Linked DNA regions of Homo sapiens: region 2 is linked to region 1. The links are contacts of gene promoters, found by promoter capture Hi-C in blood cells and fetal thymus (Javierre and others, 2016). All regions are on one chromosome and are shown on one strand. Each heading gives the region's core, a stretch centred on a gene start or on the middle of the fragment in contact. The rest is flanking DNA. Distances are from core to core; before and after follow the strand shown.

Region 1 (6,145 bases), core at 1,398-3,897:
AGACTTGATTGATTTCATTCCTCTGAGCTGTCAAGCAGTTTAACTCATGTCACACCTTCCACTGTAAGCATTTTACAGTTTTCAAACCTTTTTCATATTCATCACCTCCCTTAATCCTCACACAATGATTATCACGCCCTTTCCAGAGATCATGAAAGCAAGTATCAGTAGCATTGAGTACCTTCCCCAAATACCTGGCTACAGCCCACAACTATTGGATTTCTTATTAGTTACCTATCCATGCCCTCACACCTGGTGACTGTGGAGACTCTCTGATATACATTAACTGGACCATTCTTCTCTATTTATCATCTCTATGTCCAGCTTCGTTTTGCACCATTAGTCAATTTAACTGCACATTTTAAAAATATGCACGTTATTTTCTCTATTATACTTCATAAAACCAAGTTCAACATCAGATTCTCCAGTATCTCCTACAGTCCAGCTACTCAACATGTGGTCTGGGACCAGCAGTATCTGTATCACCTGGGACCCCACCCCAGCTAGACCTAGAGAGTCAGAATCTGTAACTTACCAAGATCCCCAGGAGATTAGTGTCCACATTAAAGTTTGAGAAGCACTGTCCTAAATACAAGCAGCACTGGCTTGATCAGAAGCACTGTCCTAAATACAAGCAGCACTGTCTGACCAGTGGCACAATCATAGCTCGCTGCAGCCTTGAACTTCTGGGCTCAAGCAATTCTCCCACCTCAACCTCCCAGGTACCTGGGACTACAAGCATGAGCCACCTCGCCCAACTAGAATTTGCACAAAGCAGGAACTCAACAAATATTTTGAGACTCGGGGCCCTGGGAATCCCAGGAGATTCACAGTTTTGCCATTACATCCTTCTTTACACCCCCCGCTTTGAACTCCTTTCCTTTGGGGCCTCTTGGCTTTTTGCGCCCTCAAAAGGCAGATATGGCCAGGTGCCGTTGGCTCACACCTGTAATCCCAGCATTTTGGAAGGCCGAGGTGGGGAATCACTTGAGGTCAGGAGTTCGAGACCAGCCTAGCCAACACGGTGAAACTCCATCTCTACTAAAAATACAAAAAATTAACCAGGTGTGGTGGCGCACGCTTGTAATCCCAGCTACTAGGGAGGCTGAGCTGGGAGCATTGCTTGAACCCGGGAGGTGGAGGTTGCTGTAAGCTGAAATCGTGCCACTGTACTCCAGCGACGGAGTGAGACTCCGTCTCAAAAAAAAAAAAAAAAAAAAAAAGGCAGACATGAACCTAGGAGTGCGGAGACACTGAGGCAGTGGGGGAAAGGGGGTGGGGTAAAGTGAGGTGAGACAGCTGCTTTCCCAGCAGAGCCAAGAGCAAATGTGTTGGTGTTGGCTTCAGGCCTACATTTATGGTGAGGAACTGGCTTTATTTCTTTCCTTTTCTTTTTTCTTTTTCTTTTTTTTTTTTTTTTGAGACGGAGTCTCACTCTGTCGCCCTGGCTGGAGTGCAGTCGCGCAATCTCAGCTCAATGCAACCTCTGCCTCCTGGGTTCAAGCGATTCTCCTGCCTCAGCCTCCCGAGTAGCTGGGACTACAGGTGCCCGCCACCACACCCGACTAATTTTTTTGTATTTTTGGTAGAGACGGGGTTTCACCGTGTTAGCCAGGATGGTCTCGATCTCCTGACCTCGTGATCCTCCCGTTTCGGCCTCCCAAAGTGCTGGGATTACAGGCGTGAGCCACCGCGCCCAGCCGGAACTGGCTTTATTTCTAAGACAAAAATGCCTAGCACTTGAGCATCTGAGCCTCAAGAGGATAAGGAGTTTGTGATAGACAACACTGGGACTGTTTCTAGACTTGATTTATTGACTTGTCTGTTTCCATTCTGTTACTAATCTGATTGACAATGAAGCCCGGGATGTGGCTGGAAGGGATTTCTGCGTGCGTGCGCATGCTATCGTCAGGGCCATGTGGGCCCGTTTGGAGCAGGTGCTCCCGTGGGTGGGGGATGTTTGAGCGAGGGCTGTTTGCGTGTGAGAAGGGCGTGTGTGAAAACGACACGGGAGAAGTGGGCGTCTCTAGGGAGTTGTTTGTATGTGATGTGAGATGTGTTTGCCTGGATCGGGAAGTAACGTAGGTTCGGGTATGTGCAGTGCGTACGGTTGGATGGGAGGAGGTTGTGGGGCTCCCAAGGTAGCACGGGAGGAGGAGGCTTACAGACACATCTTACAGAACCTAGCCCCTTTTCTTGCCCGCCTAGATTTTCCTCCTAGATTATAGTTTCCCAGTTGCGAGATCCTGGGAGAGGGAAGAGGAGAGGCGTAAGGCTCCCTAGAGTCAGGAGTCTGGGGGCTCCCCTCTTTGCGTCTCGCACGAGCTGGGAGCTGGGGAAAAGAACAGATGGGGATGGATGCGCTCCCCACAGGGGACCGCGTGGCGACACGTAAAGGATTCAACCTCAGTCCAGTAGTCGCATCCTCTGCCCCAGGGCTGCCCACTTCACTTCTTGCCTGTGCATACCGGCTGGAAGCCCGCGTACACTCTTCCGAGCTACGGGAGGAGGAAGACCCTGTTAGGGAGCGGAGCCCCGCCTCTCCCTTGTTACTGAAGCGCCCCGCCCCCTCCCCGCCCGGCGGAGCCCCGCCCCCCTCCCCACCCCCGCCCCCGCCCCCCACCCGCCGCTGCGCTCCCCTCGCTCAGTCTGGCTGGCCCCATGTTACTGAGCGGAGCTCCTCCGGCTGGCTCCCGCCCGGGGCCGCGAACGCAGGGGAGCGCTGGGGGCGGCCCGGGGGGGTCCCGCCGGGGCGCCGGGGGTGCGGGAGCCGGCCCAGGAGGGGGCGGCAGCGGCGGAGTAGCCAAGTGGCTCCGGGAGCACCTGGGCTTCCGCGGGGGGGGCGGCGGCGGAGGGGGCAGCAAGCCGGCGCCCCCCGAGCCCGACTACCGCCCCCCTGCGCCCTCTCCGGCCGCGCCCCCCGCGCCGCCCCCGGACATCCTGGCCGCCTACAGGCTGCAGCGGGAGCGCGACTTCGAAGACCCCTACTCCGGGGGGTCGTCCGGCTCCGCCGCCCTCGCCACCCCTGTCGCCCCCGGACCCACGCCGCCCCCGCGCCACGGCTCTCCCCCACACCGCCTTATTCGGGTCGAGACCCCGGGGCCCCCGGCGCCGCCTGCTGATGAGCGGATCTCCGGACCCCCCGCCAGCAGCGATAGGGTGAGTGCCGCGCCGGGCCGGGATGGCCAGGAGGGAAGGCGGTCAGGGGTCTGGAGGCTGCGAGAGGGACAAAGGTGGCCTGGCCCGGGCCCCTCGGTGTCTCAGCTTCTGGCAGACGCGAGCCCCTGACCCCGGGGTTCCGAGCCTTCACCCACCTTTGTTCAGATTCTCAACCGACTAATCTGAGACGGAAGCCCCAAACTCTGCCCCTCTGCCCTATCCTTTGTAATGGCCCCAGAACTGGTGACCCTCCCCCTCCCGGGCTGGCTCTCCACTTCGTAGCCCCCTCTAGCCTGATCCATGAGCCTTTTGCTAACGGGAATTGAGGCGCACCTCCCAACCCCCACTGGTTGATGGCCTTTCTGCCCCTCTGGAAGCAGCGGCTCAGTGCCCTTTGATCTCTGACCCTTCCCCCTGGGCATAGCCAGCACAAAGCTCTTCCCTCCTGTTGCCTCTTTGCTTCCTCCTCCTCTTCCTCCTCCTGTTTCTCCAGCCTAAGCATCCTTGCAGGTGCTGAAGCCCCAGAAAGGAGGTGAAGACGGGTTTCTCCTTGCGGACACAGCACGAGCTGGCCTTTGCCCTATAGGCTGTTGTTCTCAGGAGGCGAAGACAGGCAGCTTACAGCTCTTGCCAAGGGGGCTTCGTGGGGTCCAGGCCCACTCCTCCCTCCTTCCCTCGTCCTCTCAGGTATGAGGATAGTCAGTGCTCAGGACCTGTTGCCCACATGGGGCTAAGCAGCTGAGCCCATTCCTCCTCTCCTCCTGGCCTCCCTCTCCCCCTGGTCCATTCTGAGGGAGGCTGGAGCTTTTCCTGGGTCTGCAGGCACCAGGATAGGGAGGAGAACAGGAAATCCACCATGCCTCAGGGCCCTGCCCTGATTCGGGTTGGCCTTATCCCTCCCTGGCAGAGTGAGAGCTGAAAGCCATCCCAGGCCCCTAAATTCTGTGATGATGACTCTGTGGGCTGCCTTGGCTCTGCTGTCCTTCTTCACTCACCCCGAGAGCTCAGTTCTGGGGCCTGCCCCCTTCTCCTCAGCAGAGAAGAACATTTTTATTTGATTGGAGTGCAAAGTTGCTTTCCGAATCCGTTGGCTCCAGGATTGAGGCTTTTTAGCTGAGAGAGCGCCGTTCCGCCAGATTTCCTGGATGAGAGAGATCTGTCAGGGTCAGAGCAGAAGCCTCAGGAATGCAAATTATTTTTCCCCTAGTTTTTGCCATGGGGCATGGCTGCCCATCCTGGGCCAGGATACTTATTCTGCAGAGGAAGGTTCAAGGGCACTTCTCCAAGGCTGTGCTCGTCTGCTTCTTGTCCCCTGCTATTGTGTGATGTGATGGAGGTAGTGACAGTGAGACAGAGGAGAGGGATAGGCCCTGTTCTTCCCACTGACCAGTCAGTCTCCTCCTCTCTAACCACTGCCTGTTTGGCACAGGCAACATGGGCCTGAGCTGTCTTTGGCCCTTCTCCTCTCTACAGTGGCTTGGATGCCCTAACAGGCTGCCCACCAAGCCATGGGCTCCTCCAGGACACAGACCATGTCTTCTTGTGTCTCCCAAGTGCCTGACACAATGCTTGACATAAAAAAGGGTACATAAATATGTCCTGAATGGTGACTGTCCATTATCAGGGTGGCGTGAGGGTCGGAGACTCCCCTAGCCACAGCTTCCCTTGCACATTTTCCCAGACACCCCCAAGGAAGGGGTGCACCCACACAGTTCTATGCAGAGACTCACAGCCTCTTCTTGCCAAGGGCCTCCATGCCTCAGCTTGGGTCAGCTCTGTGATCTGTGTGCTGTTCAGACTTAGGGGCCAAGAGATGTCTGACTCCTTTGTCAGCTACAGGGACAGGAATGAAATCCAGCAGGCTCTCCCAGGAGCCATACAATCTGTGGTTTCTTTAATGGGTGTGATGAGAAAGACCCAGGATGCCATCTGAGTTGGCCCGGGGCAGGGATGCTATCTCTCTGGGCCCTGACCTGGGGCCTCCCACCATTTAGAGAGAGCAGCTCCCCACCCCTTTAGGAGCAGAGTTTGGGGTCTGAGTCTTCCCCTAGGAAAAGCTCAAACAAGGTACCTGAGTCCCTTACCCTAAACCTAAGAGATGCTGCTCCTGGATGTGAGCTGGCGCATGCCCCTGTGGCCCAGTGGAGCTGGTGTTTATGTACTATGTGGCCGCTTTCTCCCTGTTTTCTGTTCCTCCTTCTCTCAGGCCTTCTGGCTTGCTTTGAGGTCTCCTCCTGACATGTGATGAGGCCTGGGAACAGGGATGTGCTTTGTGCTGGCCTATTCTCTCCTCTGGAGCCCAGTGGCTGGGGCTGGGGGAGTCAGAACCCTCTGAGAAGGGATGGGTCATGAGATTTGATGAAATGGGTGGAGGTGTTTCTATGACAAGCCAGAGGGATTGAGCAGAAACCCAGTTAGTATGGGGGCAGGAGAGAACCAGGTCCTCGACAGTACCGAGAGGCCCAGGGGGTTCAGGACCATTAGCCTTCTCCCCATGTGGGGTTCTGGCTGCCAGCCCACCCTGGGACCCACTGCCGTAGTTGGCAGGGGTGCAGGGGTGGCCATCTGGGCAGGCCTGGCAGGGCAGGTGTGGGAGCAGCAGGAGCCGCGCCCTGCAACGGGCAGGCAGGGCCTTGCCATCTGGCCAGAGGAAGAGCTTCACGGTGCTGGGCCCTCGTCTGGCCCCCAGGCCATGCTCTGGCAGTGGGGGCTAGAGAGCTGGGCCCCTTGCTTTGCTCCCTTTTCTCAGACCTTTAGCAGGAAAAACCTGGTGTAATTAGGGAAGGGGATGGATATGGGAACAGGGCTCTGATTGGACAAAGCTCTCAGCTGCCTGTGACCATCTGTGCAGTGTGTCCTTTGCCTCCCTCATGCCAAGATACGTGTTTGGGGTTGGGTGGAGAGGTAACACGGACAATGAGACAGTCAGGCACCCTGGATTACAACCAGGGCTCTTCTTAGCTCATGGAGAGGTTCCTGGGCTTCA
Region 2 (6,145 bases), core at 1-2,500, 420 kb before region 1:
CATCATAACCCAAATATGGGACAGGAGAAGAAAACACACAAACACAACTTTTCACATCCTTTTGGCTGGTCTGGCAGTTAACTGCTTTTCTCTTTCAAACTCCTTCTCTCGTTGCTGCTCCCTTTCCAACTCTTCTTTTTGCCTCTTCTGCTGCAGTTTAAGTGCTCTTTTCTGTGTTAAAAAAAAAATTTAAAAACCAAGAGAGCAATCAGGGGTTACAGGTTTAGCCTAATTTGAAAATAACAGTGCTCTGCTTTGAGGTAATTCATTCACACTAATAAACTTCATCTTGGACATTTAAATTTGGGATAATTTAAGGTCCCTTTGATTCAAAAAAATTTGTTGCTCTAAACTCTTATTAAATGAGAACTGTAGGGCATATCCAGAGAATCTAAGCCTATCAGCCCAGCTATTAGTAAAAATGCTCAGAGTGCAGTTGAAAAAAAAATGATATTTTTAAGGCTGCACGCAGTGGCTCATGTCTGTAATCCCAGCACTTAGGGAGGTCGAGGCCAGAGGGCTGCTTGAGCTCAGGAGTTTAAGACCAGCCTCGGAAACGTAGTGAGACCCTGTCTCTAATATTTCTTAAACAATGACATTTTTAAAAAGAAAACAATGTACCATGAATGAATTATGCTATTGTATATGAGGGTATAAAAGTCAAAATATGAATACTGGCCGGGCACAGTGGCTCACGCCTGTAATCTCAGCACTTTGGGAGGCCAAGGCAGGCGTATCACCTGAGGTCAGGAGTTTGAGACCAGCCTGGCCAACATGGTAGAACGCTGTCTCTACTAAAAATACAAAAATTAGGTGGGTGTGGTGGCGGGCACCTGTAATCCCAGCTACCTGGGGAGCTGAGGCAGAAGAATCGCTTCAACCCCGGAGGCAGAGGTTGCAGTGAGCCGAGATTGCACCATTGCACTCCAGCCTGGGCGGCAAGAGCAAAACTCCGTCTCAAAAAAAAAAAGAATACTGAAAAAAAAAAAAAACAACAAAAAACAATTAAACCTCTACTTTTGTAAAGAATGTGAAAGAATTTTCAACTCACTTTTAACTTTGATGTTTTTTCATGAAGCATCAGCATCTCTTTTCTTATATTCACCAACTTGGCATGATAGTGTTTAGCCTCAGCAAACTTAACATGGAAAAATAAATGAAAAGTCAAGTTAAAATAGACTAAAATATCAAAATGAATAAATAAGGCAATATATAAATGATAGTTTGTGCTTCCTAAATTGGTCAAAATTTTTACAGCCTTATCTTCACATTTTAATTCCAAAATAAAGATTTCCTTATATTGTTAGTAGGATTTGAAAGACATTTGATTTAGTTCAGATTGACAAAAGTGTTACTAAACATAAAATAGACATTTATATTAAGATGGGCATAGACAATATTTTGCTTTAAAAACATATAATTCTAAAATTTCAGATAAGACTATCTAATAATGCTATCAGTTTCATTTAAGAAAAGTAAAACATTCTCTCTGCCTTTACAAGAGACAGACTGAGCCAGAGCACATGAAACAGTTTAAGTGAAGTGTCTGCCCATAAGGAAAACCCAAACTGTGGCCACAGAGCCCTGGACAGAAAGGACTGTGGACAAGTTTAATCCATTCCTTGGGCTGCTTTAGTCAGACTAAGCAGAATGATCTCTGTGAGGACACTTTCCTTCTTGAGGAGTCTTAAGTACAGACTTTACAACTCAGCCAACCTGCATAATCTAAAATGAAGTCTTATGTCAGGAGAAGATGGGAGGATGATGCAAGCCTAGAGATGTCAGAGAGAAGGAGAAAAGCACCCTATTTTCAGACAAGGTTACAGAAAGAGAAGAAATGAAAGAAATGTCAGTAGAGAGATTCACAGCCTTAATGTAGCTGCAAGTAAAGTCATTGTCTGATTAGCTCAGAAGTTACAGTGCCTTTTTACATATCCTGGGCCTTCCAGTTTTCAGTTCCCAGATGATAATAAAAACTACTCTTGACTAAGAGAAGAAAAAAGAGGAAGACTCCATCCTGCCCCTTCAGACTAAAGCAACAGTATTACATCTGCTTGGTTAATTCATTCAACATTCATTCATTCAACAAATATTCCTTCTGTTGCAACAGGATTTCAGTGGGGAACACAAAAATAGGTCAGTGTAGCCTTGCCCACCTCCCTCGCAAGAAACCAGGAACTACTGGGCAGATGGCTCTGTATTTACTTCCACAGGCCTCTAATGCCAGAGAATATGAACTTTGTTTTTAATTGTTACAAATGGAAAACATTAGTAAACCATCTTTGTCCAAAGAAAAGTCCATTTTTTTGAGGTATGCATGAATGGCTACAGTCATGTAAACCCAGCTTCTTTTTTTCTTAATAGAGATGGGGTCTTGCTACGTTGGCCAGGTTGGTCTTAAACTGCACGCCTCAAGTAATCCTCCTACCTCAGCCTCCCAAAGTGCTGGGATTACAGTCATAAGTCACTGTGCCCTGCCCACAAACAAAACTATTTTTAATGTTCATCAGAAAATAAAGGTAGCAAAACAAGTTCCTTTTTTTGGTTAATTCCTTGTTTCTTATAATACAGAGTATCACTTCCTCTCATCAAAAAGCTATAGAACTTCTGATGAAATTCAACTGTTCAACTATTTATATTGAAAGATATAACTGATCATTCTCAAAGCGTCCACTTCAGCCTATAGCATTAATTTATTATAGCATTATGAATATGCCATATAATTAAATAAAATGCTAATTTAAGAAACCATGTAATTGGTAAAGAGAAATGCACTTTCTTTAAAGAAAAAAAAAATGGTACCCCAAAGGTTCATTACTTCCAGTTCGCTCTTTTTGTTTGTTTGTTTTTTGAGACAGGGTCTCCCTTTGTCACCCAGGCTGGAGTACAGTGGCACAATCACAGCTCACTTGTGGCCTCGACCTCCTGGGCTCAAGCAATCCTTCCACCTCAGTTTCTGGAAAAGCTGGGACTACAGGCATGTGCCACCATGCCCAACTATTTTTCTAAATTACTTTTTGTAGAGATGGGTTCTCACTATGTAGCCCAGGCTGGTCTTGAACTGCTAGGCTCAAGCAATCCTCCTGCCTCAGCCTCCCAAAGTGCTGGGATTACAGGTATGAGCCACTATGCCAAGTCTAAGTTCTCTTTTCTAAGTCTTCAATTATAAGCAGATCTATTCCAAATGCACAAATAAGTTAAATTTCCTACTATAAATTCAACATTTGAAAGATAACAATTCAACACAACAGAAGTTCAATCAAGGTTTCTTGTTAAAAAGACAAATTCTAAGCTTAAAATCTTAGCTATTGCTTAGCTAAGTCTTAGCTATTGCTAAGACAAGATGTCATTAAATTACATCAACTAAATCATACTTACCAAAGCATTAATATCCAACATAGAATGACATTCTTTAAATTTTGAAATCTCTTGTTCCAGTGTGTCTAACAATACAACTTGGTTCTGTCTGAAACAAAAACACACAGCCAAGACAAACTCTACATATTTAAAGTGCCGGTCCATTAAAAGGAATCATATTCATCTTGGTTAATGGTAACAGTTAGTTAAGTAGGAAATGTATTAACTCTCTAAGGTTTATTTAATATAGAATAAGATTTTTCAAAATAATATTCTAAAGCCACATTCTGATAACTAAATGTGTCTTTTATTCTTGCTTCAATTTCTAATAACTAAAATAATCCAATCATTTAAAAGTATTTTATTACTTGTTACTTTTAACAACTCTCTGTATTATTCCAAAAAAGAAGTTTTTTATAGTATTTTGCCCAAGAAGTTCAATGTTTTATATATCTTAAAATTGCAACATTCCCATAAAGGAAATGAGGAACAATGGTTTTTCAGATTAGAGGTGAGGAAGATGAAGTATCAAGGGATAGTAAGTCAAAAAGAATAATTAAGCAGTAAGATGAAAAAAGCACAGGACTGGAAATCATAGCTTTCCCCGGCCAACAGCCAGTTAGCTATATGATCTTAGAAATTCAGTTTATTTCTCTGGCCTAAATCTCCTCATTTACAAAGTGAGAAGATCAGACCAGATAATTTCTAATGTTTCTCATTACAATTCTAATTCAAAACTCATTGAGGAAGAGAAGCCAACTTCCTTGATATTTCTTTACACATCAATCAATGTTAGGATCACAGGAATAAGTGACATTAAAAGGGTCACCTACCTGAATATTTTAAAGAATGCTACAAAGAAAAATATGTCATTTGCTTGTAAAACTGTGCTATCTAGAGAATAATGATAAAAAAAAAAAAGAAATAACAACGAACAGGCTCAGGGCAATTACAACATCTCTACTATCCAGCACTGAGTCTGGCATACCCTACAGGTCATAAATTTGTCTCTTGGCTGGGCACAGTGGTTCATGCCTATAATCCCAGCACTTTGAGAGGCCAAGGAAGGAGGATTGCTTGAAGCCAGGAATTCAAGACCAGCGTGGACAACAAAGCAAGACCCTCTACAAAAACAAAAAAAACACACACACACACAAAAAATGAGCTGGGTGTGGTGGCACACACCTGTGGTCCGAGCTACTTGGGAGGCTGAGGCAGAAGGATTGCTTGAGCCCAGGAGTTAGAAACTGCAGTGAGTTATAATCACACCACTGTACTACAGCCTATGTGACAGGGTGAGACCCCATCTCTACAAATATAAATAAATAAATAAATAAATAACTTTGTCCCTCCAGCTTGGACTAGAGATCACAGAAAGTGAAATACAGAATGGATGAGAGGAAAACCCAGCAAGTCAACCATCTGAGATACACAGGACAGCAAAAATAGGCTGTTAGAACTAGAAAACAATAGAAGGGGGAAAACAAAAAAATCAATGAGACAAAAAGGTGGTTCTTTAAAAGATCAATAAAATTGATAAACCTCTAGTGAGACCAATCAAGAAAAAAAAACCCCAAAGTATTAGTATTATTCATGAAAGAGCAGTAATCACCACTGATCCCATGACATTAAAAGGATAATAAATGAATATTTTCAACAACTCAGTGCTCATAAATTTGATAATGTGGATGGAATGGACTAATTCTTTGAAAGATACAAACTACCAAAACTTATACAAGGAGAAACAAAAAGTTTATGTAGGCCTATATTTATTAGACAAATTGAATCAGTAAGTAATAACCTTCCAAAAAAGACAGTACCGGGACCAAACGGCTTCACTGGTAATTTTTACCAAACATTTAAGGAAGACGTGATACCAATTCCCCACAGTCTCTTCCAGAAAATATGTCAGTCCTCCTTTATCTGCAGTTTTGCTTTCTTCAGTTTTAGGCACGTACAGTCAACTGCAGCTGTGCTATATCATCACAAGAAGGGTAAGTACAGCACAATAAGATATTTTGAAAGAGAGACCACATTCACTTAACTTTTATTATAGTATAACTGCTGTATTTTATTATTAGTTATTGTTGTTAATCTCTTACTATGCCTAACTTATAAATTAAACTTTATCATAGGTATGTAAGTATAGGAAAAAACATAGTGTATAAAGGCTGACATCCATAACCTGAAAATCCAAAATGTTGCAAAACCTGAAACATTTGGACAATGAATGACCCACCTGACCTCATGTGATAAGTCACAGTCAAAACTCTTTGTTTCATGCACAAAATTATTTAAAATATTGTATCCACTAGGGGTCTTGGAACATATCCTCCTTTGGATAAAGGGCAACAACTGCAGAAGCAAAAGGAGCACCTCCCAACTCATTCTATGAGGCTAGCATTACCCTAAAGCCAAACCAGATAAAGATATTACAAGAAAGAAAAACTATAGACCAGTATCTCTCATGAACATCGATATAAAACTCCTCAACAAAATATTAGCAAATTGAATCCAACAATGTGTAAAAAGAATTACATACCACAACCAAGTAAAATTTCTGCCAAATACGCAAAGCTGGTTCAATATTCAAAAATTCAATCAATGTAATCTACCACATCAACAGGCTAAAGAAGAAAAATTACATGGTCCTATCAATTGATGTAGAAAAAGCATTTGACAAAATCCAGCATCTATTCATGACTATAAACCATCAACAAACTAGGAAGAGAGAGGATCTTCCTCAACTTAATAAGGAATACCTTGAAAAACCTGCAGCTAACATTTA

The links. Contacts are between HindIII fragments. The CHiCAGO score rates a contact against its expected background, and 5 or more counts as called.
Region 2: a contact is called between a fragment that was not itself captured here and the fragment with the promoter of SHF in region 1, in 1 of 17 cell types (erythroblasts). The highest score is 6.0, in erythroblasts.

The regions. Positions count from the first base shown.
Region 1 is chr15:45,184,468-45,190,612 of GRCh38, reverse strand. SHF (Src homology 2 domain containing F) reads left to right here and starts at 2,647. Exons shown (of 7, transcript NM_001394037.1): 1 at 2,647-3,159. The coding sequence starts at 2,662. LOC124903481 (a long non-coding RNA gene) reads right to left here. Exons shown (of 2, transcript XR_007064608.1): 1 at 4,155-6,145; 2 at 1,795-2,498. RefSeq lists a silencer at 2,703-2,752 and an enhancer at 3,667-4,219. The HindIII fragment of the contact is 22,026 bases long and covers 1-6,145 here.
Region 2 is chr15:45,600,421-45,606,565 of GRCh38, reverse strand. It overlaps BLOC1S6 (biogenesis of lysosomal organelles complex 1 subunit 6), which reads right to left. Exons shown (of 5, transcript NM_012388.4): 3 at 3,379-3,466; 4 at 1,052-1,138; 5 at 1-171. The coding sequence ends at 52. Among named protein-coding and RNA genes, the nearest start is that of BLOC1S6, 16 kb to the right of the region's middle. The HindIII fragment of the contact is 4,089 bases long and covers 1-3,294 here.